Linked DNA regions of Homo sapiens: region 1 is linked to region 2. The links are contacts of gene promoters, found by promoter capture Hi-C in blood cells and fetal thymus (Javierre and others, 2016). All regions are on one chromosome and are shown on one strand. The core of a region is centred on a gene start or on the middle of the fragment in contact, and the rest is flanking DNA. Distances in the headings are between cores, read along the strand shown.

Region 1 (7,688 bases), core at 2,369-4,868, 330 kb after region 2:
TGATCCGCCTGCCTTGGTCTCCCAAAATGCTGGGATTACAGGTGTGAGCCACAGCACCTGGCCGGTTTTTTTTTTTTTTTGAGACAGAGTCTTGCTGTTGCCTAAGCTGGAGTGCAATGGCGTGATCTTGGCTCACTGCCAGCTCTGCCTCCCGGATTCAAGCGATTCTCCTGCCTCAGCCTCCTGAGTAGCTGTGATTATAGGCGCCTGTGACCACACCCGGCTAATTTTTGTATTTTTAGTAGAGACAGGGTTTCAGCCTGTTGGCCAGGCTGGTCTTTTTTGTTTTGTTTTGTTTTGTTTTTTGAGACGGAGTCTTGCTCTGTCGCCCTGGCTGGAATGCAGTGGCACAATCTTGGCTTACTGCAACCTCTGCCTCCAGGGTTCAAGCAATTCTCCTGCCTCAGCCTCACGAGTAGCTGGGACTACAGGGGTGTGCCACCATGCCCAGCTAATGGTTGTATTTTTTAGTAGAGACAGGGTTTCACCATGTTGGCCAGGCTGGTCTTGAACTCCTGACCTCAGGTGATCTGCCTGCCTCGGCCTCCCAAAGTGCTGGGATTACAGGTGTGAGCCACCGCACCTGGACCTTTTTCGTTGGGTTTTTTTTTTTTTTGAGACGGAGCCTTGCTCTGTCGCCCAGGCTAGAGTGCAGTGGCGCGATCTCGGCTCACTGCAAGCTCCGCCTCCTGGGTTCACGCCATTCTCCTGCCTCAGCCTCCTGCGTAGCTGGGACTACAGGCGCCCGCCACCACGCCCGGCTAATTTTTTTGTATTTTTAGTAGAGACGGGGTTTCACCGTGTTAGCCAGGATGGTCTTGATCTCCTAACCTCATGATCTGCCCGTCTCAGCCTCCCAAAGTGCTGGGATTACAGGTGTGAGCCACCCCGCCCAGCCCCTTTTTTGTTTTTTTTTTTTAAGGCAGAGTCTTGCTCTGTCGCCCAGGCTGGAGTGCCATGGTGTGATCTTGGCTAACTGCAGTCTCTGCCTCCTGGGTTCAAGCGATTCTTGTGCCTCAGCCTCCTGAGTAGCTGGGATTACAGGCGCCCGCCACCATGCCTGGCTAATTTTTGTATTTTTAGTAGAGACAGGGTTTCACCATGTTGGCCAGACTGGGTCATCACCTTGTGTTCTTTTCCTCATAGAACTTGTCATAATTCCAGATCTTCTAATATGAGATTACTGATTTACTGTCAATCTCCTTCCACTGTGAAGGTGGAAACCTTTCTGCCTTGTTCCAGGCCATATCTCAATTCTAGAAGACCTAGCACATAGGTGATGTTCATAAATCTGTCATGAGGCCATGTGCAGTGGTTCAACCTGTAACCCCAGTGCTGCGGGATGGTGAGGCAAGTGAATCACTTGAGACCAGGAGTTTGAGACCAGCCTGGGCAACAACAGCGAGAGATCCCATCTCTACAAAAAGTAAAAATAAATTAGCCAGGCTTGGTGGTGGCGCACGCCTGTAGACCCAGCTACTCCGAAGGCTGAGGTGGGAGGATCGTTTGAGCTCCTGAGGCTTCAGTGAGCTATGATCACACCAGTACACTCCAGCCTCAGCAACAGAGTGAGACCTTTTCTCTTAAAAAAATGACTGTCCTGGTCTAGGGCTCATCGCCTCTTGCCTGGTCTACACCAGCCAACTCTCTGGTGTCCCCTGCCCCATTCTCTCAGTGATCCATCCAATCCACCCTGTAGACACAGTGACCTTTCCAACACTCATATCTGGTCAGGTCTTCTGTCCAAACTCTCCATCATACTCTAGCCCTAATCATATCTTTGTGGGTTCAACTCCCACCCCTCTCCTCCACAGCCCTATCACTCATCCAACGTGTGCCTATTGAGCGCCTACTATGCGCTGGGCACTTGGGACACATCAGAGAAAACAGATCCCAAATCCCTGATTTTTCCTGAGATGCTTACAATGAAGGAGCGTCAGATTCTCCCTGAATTGAACTTGCCCTTTCTTGCCTCACTGCCCCTGCAAATGTAGTTCCCATGTCTGGAATGCCACAGGCAGGTCCTCTACAGAATACCTTCCTTTCAGCCCCAGAGGCAGAGGAAAAGGGTTGTTGGGCCAGGCGTGGTGGCTCACCCCTGTAATCCCAGCACTTTGGGAGGCCAAGGCGGGTGGATCACCTGAGGTCAGGAATTTGAGACTAGCCTGACCAATATGGTGAAACCCCGTCTCCACTAAAAATACAAAAATTAGCCAGGCGTGGTGGGGGGCACCTGTAGTCCCAGCTACTCGGGGGGCTGAGACAGAACTGCTTAAACCCAGGAGGCGGATGTTGCAGTGAGCCGAAATTGAGCCACTGCACTCCAGCCTGGGCGACAGAGCGAGACCCCGTCTCAAAAAAAAGCCAAAAAAACAAAAAACAAAAGAAGGGAAAAGGGTTGTTGCCACTGCTTCTTCCTAGACGGGACCTGTCCTGATGCTTTCACACCTCACACCTCTCTCTTCCAGGAGGCTGAGTGCCCCTAGAGGGCAGGGACCCGTGAGTCCTCTCTGCATCCCAACAACAGCAAAGAGCCTAGCAATCAGGAGGGGAAACTGAACCCATGAATGTTTGAAGACCAAATAAATGCTCCCCTCCCCTCCCCCACAACTCAGACTCTACCAGGAAGCTTTCCATCTACTCACAAGAGTTCTGCCAGCTCCCCCACTTCCCCAACCAAGGCCAGGAGGAGATTCCGAGGCTGATGGAACTGTTCCCAGTCTCGTTCCGCAGCAAACTCAGCATGGAGGCGGCGGCTGAAATAGGACAAAGGAGTGTAAGTCCAAGTCTCCGGGTTAGAGGGTGATGCAGGGGCCAGAGGCAGCTACCCCCGTAGTATGTAATGGGGCCTGGGACCAGGAGATTCTGCAACTAATTCATTGGATGGTATTGTGCAGGTCATTTCCTCTTTCCGGAACTTGGTTCCCTCATCTATAAAATGGGCGTGCCCCTGAACTGCCCTTAACATCTCGCCAAAACTAACAAAACCCTCTTCATTATTCCATCTCCTGCTGCTACTTCTGCAGTTTCCTCCACCTGGAATCGCCGCACATCAAAATGCAATTTCTCTTACAGAAGGTAGTTCCACAGACCCTTCCTCTAAGAAGCCTTTCTTGACCTCCTCCAGCAAAAAATAACGTCTCCCACCTCTCAGCACTTCGTTTGCCCCTCTCGTACCCCCGGCGCCTGGAGAGCAGAGGCGGTATCTGGTGCCGGTATCTTCCCAGGGCTAGGCTGAAGGGCGTTCCTAGTTACCACTCGGAGGCACCACCCAATTTCCCTTGCCTCAGGTGTGCACCGCTGCGCCCATTTTGCAGATGAGGTAAGAAGGCTCACCCAGGGACAGCCCACAGAGCCAGGACCCGAGCCCCGCTGCCAGCCCGCTTCCCGACCACGTGGAGGAACCCTCCCCAAAACGCGGGAGAAAGGGGCGACTTCCCCACCCCGAGCTGGGCCAGGCCTGCTTACATGTCCTCGAGCGTGGGCTCCGGGCTGAAGCTGAACCGGCCGGGAGCAGCAGTGTCCTCTCCCCCCGTGTCCCCACGAATCTCCCCACCGGCCACAGACATGCCGCCCACCGCTGCACCGCGACTTCACGGAAAACCCACGAGCCACGCTCGAAGCCCCGCCTCCAGAGCTCCGACCAATTACGGGAGTTCTCTATTGCCTCACGGGGCGGAGCCTGAGGAAAGAGACCAATGACTTTTGTGGAGTTTGCTACAGCCCTCCCCTTCCCTCACTGGACCAATCTGAGGGAGCTTCAAGCGCGCGTTTCTAGTCTTAGGCCCTGGAATTCTTCCGCTAGGCCCTGTGTCTAAAGGTAGAGGTACCAATTCGACCTGGGGAAGAGACGAAGGGCAGAGGGTGGGGGAAGCGCAGGCGCGTCACTTCGTTTATGGGCGCCAGAGGGCGCCAAAGCGAAACGGCAGCGGAAGAGGGCCCGTCAGGTGGAAAACCCTATAAATGAAAGGCCCTATGCATAGGTATTAAATCAGGGCTTAAGGACGTTGAGAAACCTCGAGGCCAACCCCCACACTATTTGGATGGGATTGAAGGGGAAGAGCGGAGTAAGATCAGACGGCAGTAGGACTTCAGCTCCCCGCCATCGCTGTGTCCTGTGGTTGAAACGATGGAGGTCGCCCCATCCCTGTCCTAAGGGAGGCAGTAGGCCCCAGCGCAACGTACATTGCCCTGAAACACGTGGCCCCTTATGGTCTGGCCTGTGCCGGCCTCTCCAGCCTCATGGGTCCCCAGCACGGCTCCTCCACCCCACACACGAGAACTCCAGGCTCCACTCACACCAGGGAATACGCGAGGTGGCGAGTCACAGGGTTGCTGCTTTCAAATCAGAACCACTGAGTTATTGGCCATGGGAGGAGCAGAGATCTTTATGAAACCCTAGAACAGGTGTAGTCTTGCAAAGAATGATTTATTATTGTACCCTTATTAGGGCTACTATCTCTGATTTCCACGTTTAAAGAGGCTTCCAGCTTGCTGGAAGTGAAAGCGTAAGAAAGCGCAGGAAGAGGCAGAGTCAGATTTTGGAAATTAAAATCCCAAGGCTGTGACAATTGCAATTCTAGGTATATGCCCTAGAGAAATTAATGAATATGTGCAGAGAGACACATGCAAGAAGTTCATTACAGTTTTGTTTCTAAGAGTGAAAAAAATTGAAAATAAAATGACTATCAACGGAAGAATGGCTACATGGAAGTATATTTATACAAATGATATTATCCAGCAGTTAAGATTGGATACATGCAACAGAAACAAGTTTAAACTGCTTTTAGCAAGAAAAAGAAATCTATTATTTTTATTTTTTAAATTTTTTATAGAGACAGGGTTTCACCATGTTGCCTAAGCTGGTCTTGAACCAGGATTGCTGGATTGGGCTCTAGCAATCCTCCTGCCTTGGCCTCCCGAAGTGCTGGGATTACAGGCACGAGCCACCCCCACCGGCCACAAGGAATTTATTGTAAGGATACAAGAGTGTCTCCAGAATACAGTGGGACCTCAGGAATGAACTGGAACTGGGGTGGCTGTTTTAAGCATTTTACATATTTAATCCTCATAGCAACTAATTTAATCCTCACAAAAACCCTATATGGTAGGTAATATTGTTGTCATCCCCATTTTAAAGATAAGGAAACTGAGGCCGGGCGCGGTGGCTCACGCCTGTAATGCCAGCACTTTGGGAGGCCGAGGCGGGCGGATCACGAGGTCAGGAGATCGAGACCATCCTGGCTAACACGGTGAAACCCCGTCTGTACTAAAAATACAAAAAATTAGCTGGGTGTGGTGGCGGGCACCTGTAGTCCCAGCTACTCAGGAGGCTGAGGCAGGAGAATGGTGTGAACCTGGGAGGTGGAGCTTGCAGTGAGCCGAGATCGCGCCACTGTGCTTCAGCCTGGGCGAAAGAGCGAGACTCCGTCTCAAAAAAAAAAAAAAAAAAAAAAAAAAAAAGATAAGGAAACTGAGAGGTTAAATAACTTAACAGCTAGTAAAGTGGTAGAGCTGGCGTCAAATCCAGGCAGTTTGGCTTCACAGTCTGTTATTAGACCCTATGATGTATTGCCTGAAATGGCGATAAATATGAAAAAAATAAATGTAACTGTATTTTAAATACTATGAAAGGCTGGGCGTAGTGGCTCATGCTTGTAATCCTAGCACTTTGGGAGGCGGAGGTGGGCAGATCACTTGAGATCAGGAGTTTGAGACCAGCCTGGGCAACATGGTGAAACCCTTTCTCTATTAAAAATACAAACTTAGCTGGGTGTGGTGGTGCATGCTTGTAGTCCCAGCTGCTCAGGAGGCTGAGGCATGAGAATCACTTGAACCCGAGAGATGGAGGTTGCAGTGAGGCGAGATTGTGCTACTGTACTCTAGCCTGGGTGACAGAGCAAGACCCTGTCTCAAAAACAAAACAAAACAAAACAAACAAAACAAAATCTGGGCATGGTGGTGCACACCTGTGGTCCCAGCTACTTGGGAGGCTGAGGTGGGAGGATCACCTGAGCTTAGGGAGGTCAAGCCTGCAGTGAGACATGATTACGCCACTGCACTGCAGCCTGGGCGACAGAGTGAGACCCTGTTTCAATAAATACATACATATATACTATGAAAAGTGATTGGGGGCATGTTTAGATTGCATGGTCCAGGAAGATATATAGTAAGCACTGTAGGTTACCTACTTAATTGCTCTTTTTCCTCTTCTCCATTCTCTTTTTCTTTTTTCTTTTCTTTTTTGAGGAGGAGACAGGTTCTGGTTCTATTGCCCAGGCTAGAGTGCAGTGGCACAATCACAGCCCACTTGTGTAGTTAAGACTACAGGTGAGCATCACCATGCCTGGCTCCTCTTCTATTCTTGCAGAATTTTTTTTTTTTTTTTTAGGAGTCTCACTCTGTCGCCCAGGCTGGAGTGCTGTGGTATGATCTCTGCTCACTGCAACCTCCGTCTCCTGGGTTCACGTGATTCTCCTGCCTCAGCCTCCCAAATAGCTGGGATTACAGGTGCACACCACCACACCCAGCTAATTTTTGTATTTTTAGTAGGGATGGGGTTTCACCATGTTGGCCAGGCTGGTCTTGAACTCCTGACCTCAAGTGATCCTCCCCCTTCTGCCTCCCAAATTGCTGGGATTACAGGCGTGAGCCACCGCGCCCGGCCACTTACAGAATCTTGATTTTGTTCTGGGGTCCACGCTCCTCCACTTGATTGTTCTGCCTGACTGGTCATAGTGTTCCCATTGCCCTGGCCATTGATTGGTTTATGAATGAGCATGCTATGGATAATAAGTTGGAAGTCTTTTTTTTTTTTTAGACAGAATCTCGCTCTGTCGCCAGGCTGGAGTGCAGTGGCGCAATCTCTGCTCACTGCAACCTCCACCTCCTGGGTTCAAGCGATTCCCTTGCCTCAGCCTCCTGAGTATCCGGGACTACAGGCGTGTGCCACCACGCCCAGCTAATTTTTTGTATTTTAGTAGAGACAGGGTTTAACCATGTTGGCCAGGATGGTCTCGATCTCCTGACCTTGTGATCTCCCTGCCTCGGCCTCCCAAAGTGCTGGTATTACAGGTATGAGCCACTGCCCGGCCAAGTTGGAGGAACTCTATTGGATTTCTGGGAAACGTTCTTCTTAGTTCTTTAAAGAAATTACAGGGGCTGGCTATGGTTGTTCATGCCTCTAATCCCAGCAGTTTCAGAGGTGGAGGCAGGAGGATCTTTTGAGGCCAGCCCTGGCAACATAGCGACACTCTACACAAAATTAAAAAAAAAATTAGCTGGGCATGGTGGCATGCACCTGTATTCCTAGCTACTCAGGAGGCTAAGGTGGGAGGATCACTTGAGCCCAGGAGTTTGTTATAGTGAGCTATGATCAGCCCACTGCACTCCAGCCTGGGTGACAGAGGGAGACCCTGTCTCAAAAAAAAAAAATCAAACAAACAAACAAACAAAACCACAAAAGACACAGGATGTTTCTACCTCTAGATGTTGGTATATGGAGAGAAGATTGAGAGGAAACCTAGTCCTCAGGCTGAAATTGGCAAGTCAGCCAGATACAAAGGAACTTGATCCTTCCTAACATTGCTGAGCCACTTATTGTACAAGTTCCAGAAATACCCTAATTTCGGACTCTGGCTATATAAGAAAATGAATCCCTTTAATGGTCAAACTACTTTTAGTTCGGT
Region 2 (7,891 bases), core at 712-3,211:
CTAACAGGAAATCCGAACCGGGAGGAACCTGAGCATAAATGTTTAGATCTGATCAGTTATCAGACTAGAGTCAGACTGCATCTAAGCAAGACCCTGTTCCAAACTGGGCATTACCTCTTTATAGACGGCTCCTCTCGGGTAATTGAAGGAAGGAGGCATAACGGGTGCTCTGTAGTTGACAGGGAAACCCTCATGGAGGTAGAGTCAGGGAGACGGCCCAATAACTGGTTCACTCAAACATGTGAACTCTTTGCATTAAATCAGGCCTTAAAATCTCTGCAAAATCAGGAAGGAACTATTTACACTGACTCCAAGTATTTTGGAGTAGTCCATACCTTTGGAAAGATCTGGACTGAACGAGGCCTCATTAATAGTAAGGGCCAGGACCTTGTCTATAAAGAATTGATTATGCAAGTACTAGAAAATCTTCAACTGCCAGAAGAAATAGTGGTGGTCCACGTCCCAGGACACCAGAAAAACCCATCTTTTGAAAACCGGGGAAATAACCTCACAGATCAAGTAGCCAAGCAAGTTGCCTCTTCCTGAGAGGCACCCATTTTCCATCTGACCCCTTGCCTTCCCCTCCAGTCGCAATCCCCATCTTCTCCGACGCGGACCAAGAAAAGTTAAAAAGAATAGGAGCTAAGGAAAGCTCAGAGGGAAGGTGGGTATTACCAGACGGGAGGGAAATGCTGTCTAAACCTCTTATGAGGGAAATATTATCACAGCTTTATCAAGAAACTCACTGGGGTCCCCAAGCTATGTGTGACACAGTCCTCAAAGCCTATGGGTATATAGGAATCTCTACCCTCGCTAGTCAGGTGGCGGATAGTTGCCTAGTGTGCAAAAAAACTAATAAAACCCGAAGGAAGCAGCCTTTACTTTATCAAGGGAACCACCCCTATAATTGCCAATCCAACCAGTGCAACCCAGTACTTACCTCTATTACTACCCCTACCTCCACCGACCCTAACTCCACTCTAGGTTGCTTCTATGGCTTAGGAGCCGATGTTACTGGAAGGGACCCTATAGGCTTCTTTGAAATATGTTTTGTTCACCCTTCTCCACCTCCTACCGTCTCCCCCTCCCCAAGCCCACCAAATCAAACCATTCCTCACCTCTTACCCAATGACAAAACCAAAGTAGCTATAGTAGAAGTCAAGGACTTAAAGCAAACCCTAGCCATTGAGACCGGGTATCAAGATGCAAATGCCTGGCTGGAATGGATTAAATATTCTTTTCGCACCCTGAATAAAAGCGATTGTTACTCTTGTGCAGCGGGCAGGCCGGAAACCCAGATTGTCCCCTTTCCACTCAGATGGGCCAACCAACCAGGCATGGACTGTATGGTAGCTCTCTTCCAGCACACCACAGCCTGGGGAAACAAGACGTGCGCCACTCTTTCACTACGTTTCCCAAAGATCAGGAGCCCTACGGGTCAGCTCCCAAGGACCATTTGACTTCCACCTCTCAATGCCAGTTACACCTTGTGTCTCCCACAACAGGACAAATTGACGTTCCTTGGAAATCTAATGGGAGTCTAAACCTTTTCAAGAGCTAACCAATCAGTCAGCCCTTGTCTATCCCCGAGCAGATGTATGGTGGTATTGTGGACTGTTACTGGGTACGCTGCCAAGCAATTGGAGCAGCACTTTTGCTCTAATCCAGTTGGCCATCCCTTTCACCTTGGCATTTCATCAACCAGACAGGAAGCAAGTAACCCAAAGAAAAAGAGAAGCCCCTCGTGGGCCTTTGACCCCCATGTTTACATAGACAGTAGCAGGGTCCCACGGGAGCTACCAAGTGAATTTAAAGCTTGGAATCAAATAGCCGCTGGGTTTAAGTCTGTTTTGTTCTGGTGGTCTGCTATAAATAAAAATGTAGACTGGATAAATTATATATACTACAGCGAGCAGCGATTCGTCAGTTATACCAGGGATGCCATCAAAGGAATAGCTGAACAATTAGGCCCCACCAGCCAGATGACCTGGGAAAATAGACTAGCCCTTGACATGATATTGGCAGGAAAAGGCAGAGTCTGTGTCATGATCTGAGTCCAATGTTGTACTTTTATCCCTAATAATACAGCCGCCGACGGGACCATCACAAAAGCTTTACAAGGCCTTACCACCCTGGCAAATGAATTAGCCGAAAATTCTGGACTAGATAACCCTTTTATGGGTCTCATGGAAAAGTGGTTTGGAAAATGGAAAGGACTCCTGGCTTCAATCTTTACCTCTCTTGCAATTGTAACAAGTGTACTTATCCTTGTGGGCTGCCGCATCATACCTTGTATTCGTGGGTTAACTCAAAGGCTCATAGAAACAGCCCTCACTAAAGCCTTCCTCTCTTCTCTCCCTCCATACTTGGACAAGCTCTTGCTCCTGGATAATCAAGAAGAACAACGAAGCCAAATCCTGTTAAAATTTTTTGCAGAGGAAGAAGTATCAAATAGAAGAGAGGAAATTGTTGGGACAGCTAAGCTCTTCAAAGACTCAACTTCCTGGTCATAAACTTCTCCCCGTTTTTCTTCTTTTTCGCCAGTCTACCCTGTTTGGGAAAGTTTAAACCTTAGCCAGTCGGGATCAGCTCAGATTGTGCAGTCCATCCCCAGTCAATGGGGAAAGGACACAGAAACAGGAACTGCGTTAGGGTTAAAAAGCCCTTCTCTCCTTTGTTTGGGGTGCTCTTGCGATTACAAGCTGCGCAAGTAGCACCGTTCTGAAGTAAAGATGCCTTGCTGGGAAATCTGTCTCAGTGCTGGTTTTTCTTGACTACACTGAGCACTTGTTTCCAACACCCCTGTGCTCCAGGCTGGGTTAGGTCTGATCTCAGGGAATGTCTGTTTCAACACGTGTCTGCAGTTCTTTGGCTTGTGTTGCTCACTGCAGTGGGCCCAGCCTGGTCTAGAGGAGGCGCTCAGGAAGTATCTGTGAAATGTGAATGTGTAGTTCCTTCAGTGAATATGGCCCTGGGGCTGAAGATGGCAGAAGCATTCTGGGAGCTTCTGGAGAAGGAGACCTGGGAGGAGAAGGTTGGAATGGCGGGGGCAGCAGAGGGGCTGGGTGAACTCAGCTGTCCCACCCAGGCCCATCCTCTGCAGCCCGAGAAGGAAGCTCACAGGGCAAGACATGGAAGAGATCAAGTTCCCTGCCCGGTGCCTGGGCTGTTGATGGCCTCAGGAAAATGGAACCATTACCTGTTGCTGTCAAGTGGCTGGGGGCCAGGATGCCTGGGTTGGCCGTGAGAGGACATTGCTGAGGAGAGTGGAGGCCAGGCTGGGGTGGGGTGTGGCAGGAGGACAGGAATGCAGTGGAACCAGTGGGTCAGGCTCCTGAGGGCCCCAGGCTCCAGCCTCAGGGCTGGCCTGTTCCCTCCTAAGCTGCCATCTTCATATCTTCAGGACCCACCCCTCTACTCCTCACCCTCAGCACAACGATGTGATCGAAAGGCAAATATTTATTTTTCAGGAAGAGAAACAGGAGACCTCGAGGCTTCTGGACTTAGGAGGTCCGGGCAGCTGGTCCATGGTTGTCCAGGTAGTGCCGCAGGGCTGTGGGATAATCCGTTATGACGCCAGTGGCTCCCACGCTGAAGGCTGCTTCAAAATCCGACTCTTCATTAAGGCACCAAAAGACCACCTGAGCAGGGAGGGAGGGGGCCTGTAGATTCTGAACAATTTTACATCTGGAGAGTGGGGACCCACCTCCTCCTCTATGGAGACTCCCCAGCAGCAGTAGGCTGGAGCTGATTGTTAAATTCTCAGGAATTTTGCAAAGTGGTTATTAAACCCAGCCATTATTAAAAATTAAATCATAGCCTGGGTGCAGTGGCTCACGCCTGTAATATCAACACTTTGGGACGCCGAGGCAGGAGTTGAGGCCAGGTGTTTAAGATCGAGTGAGACCTCATCTCTACAAAAAACTTTGTAAAAATTAATTAGCCCGGTGTGGTGGTATGCGCCTGTGCTCCCAGCTACTTGGAAGACTGAGGTGAAAGAATTGCTTGAGCCCAGGACTCTAAGGCTGCAGTGAGCTATGGTTGCACCACTGTACTCCAGCCTGGGCGATACAACAAGACCTCGTCTCAAAAAAAAAAAAAAAATTATATATACTGACAATTAAATTATTTATTTATTTATTTATTTATTTTTTGAGATGGAGTCTTGGTTTGTCACCCGGGCTGGAGTACAGTGGCATGAACTCGGCTCACTGCAAGCTCTGCCTCCCGGGTTCACACCATTCTCCTGTCTCAGCCTCCTGAGTAGCTGGGACTACAGATGTCCGCCACCACGCCCAGCTAATTTTTCTGTTTTTAGTAGAGATGGGGTTTCACCATGTTAGCCAGGATGGTCTCGATCTCCTAACCTCGTGATCCACCCGCCTCGGCCTCCCAAAGTGCTGGGATTACAGGTGTGAGCCACCGCGCCCGGCCCTAAATAAATTATTAAAACAACAAGTGGCCAGGCGTAGTGGCTCACGCCTGTAATCCCAGCACTTTGGGAGGCCGAGGCAGGCAGATCAACTAAGGTCAGGAGTTCGAGACCAGCCTGGCCAACATGGTGAAATCCCATCTCTACTAAAAACAGAAAAATTAGCTGGGCGTGGTGGCGGGCGACTGTAATCCCAGCTACTCAGAAGGCTGAGGCAGGAGAATCGCTTGAACCCAGGAGGTGGAGGTTGCAGTGAGCTGAGATCACGCCATTGCACTCTAGCCTGGGCAACAGAGCAAGACTCTGTCTCAAAAAACAAAACAAAACAAAAAACAAAACCCAAAACAAACAAAAATCCAGTAATAAATATTCAAAGCATATCTCTTGCTAATCAGTTTCCTATTACTGTGTTCTTGAAGTGATTAAGTCTGTTGAGGCTGCAAGATGGAAATACTACATGATGGGGTGCCACCATGCATCTCTTCCCATTCTGCATTTAGTGGCTTCATGTCGGCAGCCTGAAACTGGCCAAGATGGGAGTATTTAAACCAGGAAAATTAATCCTCAAATCAGGGCTTTCATTTGTTCCTCTCTGAGAGCTAGTTGTTGACCACTTAACAGCACCACCCTCCCCCAAACCCCCATTCCACTGCCACCTGCCCCAGCTCCTGCAGCTCTGCCCCTTCCCTGCCCGTTGAGTGGGCACTGAGGTAGGCGGAGATGGGAATTTTTTATTTAAAAATACAGATGAGACGAGGTCTCTCTGTATTGCCAACACTGGAGTGCAGTGGTGTAATCACAGCCCACTGTAGCCTTGACCTCCTGGGCTCAAGTGATCCTCCCACCTCAGCCTCCTAACTAGCTGGGACTACAGGCATGCACTACCATGCCCAGTTAATATTTTATTTATTTATTTATTTATTTTTGAGACAGTCTTGCTCTGTCGCCCAGGCTGGAGTGCAGTGGCGTGATCTCGGCTCACTATAGCCTCCAGCTCCTGGGTTCAAGTGATTCTCGTGCTTGAGCCTCCCAAGTAGAGCTGGGATTACAGGCATGCGCCACCATACCCGGATAATGTTTACATTTTTAGTAGAGATGGGGTTTCACAATGTTGGCCAGGCTGGTCTCGAACTCCTGACCTTAGTTGATCCGCTGGCCTTGGCCTCCCAAAGTGCTGGGATTGCAGGCATGAGCCACTGCACCCTGCCTCTGCATTTTTCTTTTCTTTCCCTTTTCCTTTCCTTTTTCCTGTTTCCCTCCCTCTCCTCCCTCTCCCTGTCTCTGGCTCTCACGCTCTTTCCTCTCTCTCTTTTGAGACAGTCTGGCTATCTCTCCCAGGCTGGAGTGTGGAGTGCAGTGGCGTGATTCTGATTATAGCTCACTGCACCCTCGAAACCCCGTGCTCAGGTGATCCTCCCATCTCAGCCTCCTGAGTGGCTGGGACTACAGGTGTAAACCACTGCGCTTGGCTAATTTTTAAATTTTTTGTAGAGACGAGGGTCTCAGTATGTTGCCCAGGCTGGTCTTAAACTCCTGGGCTCAAGTGATCCTCCCACCTTGGCCTCTCAAAGGGCTGGGATTACAGGTGGGAGCCGTGCCCAGCCTCTGCCTATGGCATTTCTTCCCTGTACCCTTGATGGGAAGCTCCCACCCCTAGTACCATAGTGCCTGGAACATTCTCAAGGATCGTTTACTAATTAAATGATCTGGTGGAAGCCAATGCTCAGGGGAGAGGGGGGTGGGCTGGGCCTGGTTTCTCCCATCTCTCATCTTTCCCCAGCCCCCTCTCATCAGGGATCATGATACATCATTGTTGTCATCATAATGGCTAACATTTATCAAGCCCTTAATAAGTACTAGTTACATATCCATATGTTGGCAATGTCAGGTTAAGAAAATATGTGCGTGGCCAGGCGTGGTGGCTCACACCTGTAATCCCAGCACTTTGGGAGGCTGAGGCAGGTGGATCACTTGAGGCCAGGAGTTCGAGACCAGCCTGGCCAACATGGTGCAACCCCGTCTCTACTAAAAACACAAAAATTAGCCAAGCATGGTGGCAGGCACCTGTAGTCCCAGCTACTGGGGAGGCTGAAGCAGGAGAATCGCTTGAACCCGGGAGGTGGAGGTTGCAGTGAGCCGAGATTGCACCACTGCACTCCAGCCTGGGTGACAGAGTGAGACTCTTGACACACACACACACACACACACACACACACAGAAGAAGAAAATTGTGTGTGTTCGTGTGTGTGTGTGTGTGTATCCAGAGAGTTAAATATACCATTTTCCCATTTTAGGGACGAAGAAACTGAGGTGAGGTCACCTGCCCGAGTGATGCAGCTAGTTGGCAGCAGAGTGGGACCGGAACCCTGCTGCCAGGTCTGTGTGCGGTGGAAGTGGTGGTCACGGCCTCACCTGCACCCCTCGCTCCTCCAAGTGTCGGATCAGACTCTTCCTCATGATCAGCCTGGGGGTGGGGTGGGGACGTGGGAGGTGATGATGAGAGGGGACCTGGGAGAAGGGCAGCAGTAGGTCTCTATGGGGACACGCCACCCAGCCATCTTGCCCACCTCACCATTTCGAAACCACAGCCAATAACTGGTTCAGGCAAGAGCAGGAAAATGGGAAATAGGTCCTGCAGAGAGAAGGAAGTGGGGGTTAGCTCCTAGGGTCTCCCCTGTCCCAGAGGTGGGGTGGGCTGGTAGTGCCCCCGCCAACTAGGGTAGCGCTGCCCTCCCACCCCCCAGAATCCCCCAGAATAACCTTTGTAGTTGCCCCAGTGAACAATTCACCCATTGTTCAGAGAGCCTACTCTGACCACCACGCTTCAAGGGTGTGGCCCTCCAGTCACCATTCACCAGATAAGGAATCTGGGCCTTAGAGAACGAAAGGGACTTGCCAGACCCAAAGCAGAGTGGTGGTGGGGCTGGGCCAGGGCCTCGCTTGGTTCCAAAGCTGGACATCCAGGCTGCAGGCCCTCCTGGTTGGGCCTGGCCAGCTTCTTATTTATCTATTTATCTTATTATTAATTTAAATTAATTTTTTTTTTTTTGAGACAGAGTCTTGCTCTGTCGCCCAGGCTGGAGTGCCGTGGTGCGATCACAGCTCACTGCAAGCTCCGCCTCCTGGGTTCACACCATTCTCCTGCCTCAGCCTCTTGAGTAGCTGGGACTACAGGTGCCCGCCACCACGCCTGCTAATTTTTTGTATTTTTAGTAGAGACAGGGTTTCACCCTGTTAGCCAGGATGGTCTCGATCTCCTGACTTTGTGATCCGCCCGCCTTGGCCTCCCAAAGTGCTGGGATTACAGGCGTGAGCCACCGTGCCCGGCCATTAAAAAATTTTTGTAGAGACATGTCTCACTATGTTGCCCAGGCTGGTCTTGAACTCCTGGACTCAAGCAATCCTCCCGCTTCAGCCTCCCAAAAGTGCCAGGATAATAAGCACGAGCCAGCCAAGTGT

What was found. The method cuts DNA at HindIII sites, captures the fragments that hold promoters and counts their contacts. A CHiCAGO score of 5 or more calls a contact.
Region 1: a contact is called between the fragment with the promoter of DCTPP1 here and a fragment that was not itself captured in region 2, in 4 of 17 cell types (naive CD8 T cells, erythroblasts, total CD4 T cells and 1 more). The highest score is 5.8, in naive CD8 T cells.

Annotation. Positions count from the first base shown.
Region 1 is chr16:30,426,412-30,434,099 of GRCh38, forward strand. DCTPP1 (dCTP pyrophosphatase 1) reads right to left here and starts at 3,619. Exons shown (of 3, transcript NM_024096.2): 1 at 3,469-3,619; 2 at 2,646-2,756. The coding sequence starts at 3,569. RefSeq lists enhancers at 1,722-2,222, 2,223-2,723, 3,477-3,556, 3,957-4,066. The HindIII fragment of the contact is 11,131 bases long and covers 2,628-7,688 here.
Region 2 is chr16:30,101,369-30,109,259 of GRCh38, forward strand. YPEL3-DT (YPEL3 divergent transcript) reads left to right here. Exons shown (of 2, transcript NR_135192.1): 2 at 2,089-4,088. It overlaps GDPD3 (glycerophosphodiester phosphodiesterase domain containing 3), which reads right to left. Exons shown (of 10, transcript NM_024307.3): 8 at 7,005-7,064; 9 at 6,845-6,896; 10 at 3,442-3,641. The coding sequence ends at 3,504. Among named protein-coding and RNA genes, the nearest start is that of GDPD3, 8.2 kb to the right of the region's middle. The HindIII fragment of the contact is 297 bases long and covers 1,814-2,110 here.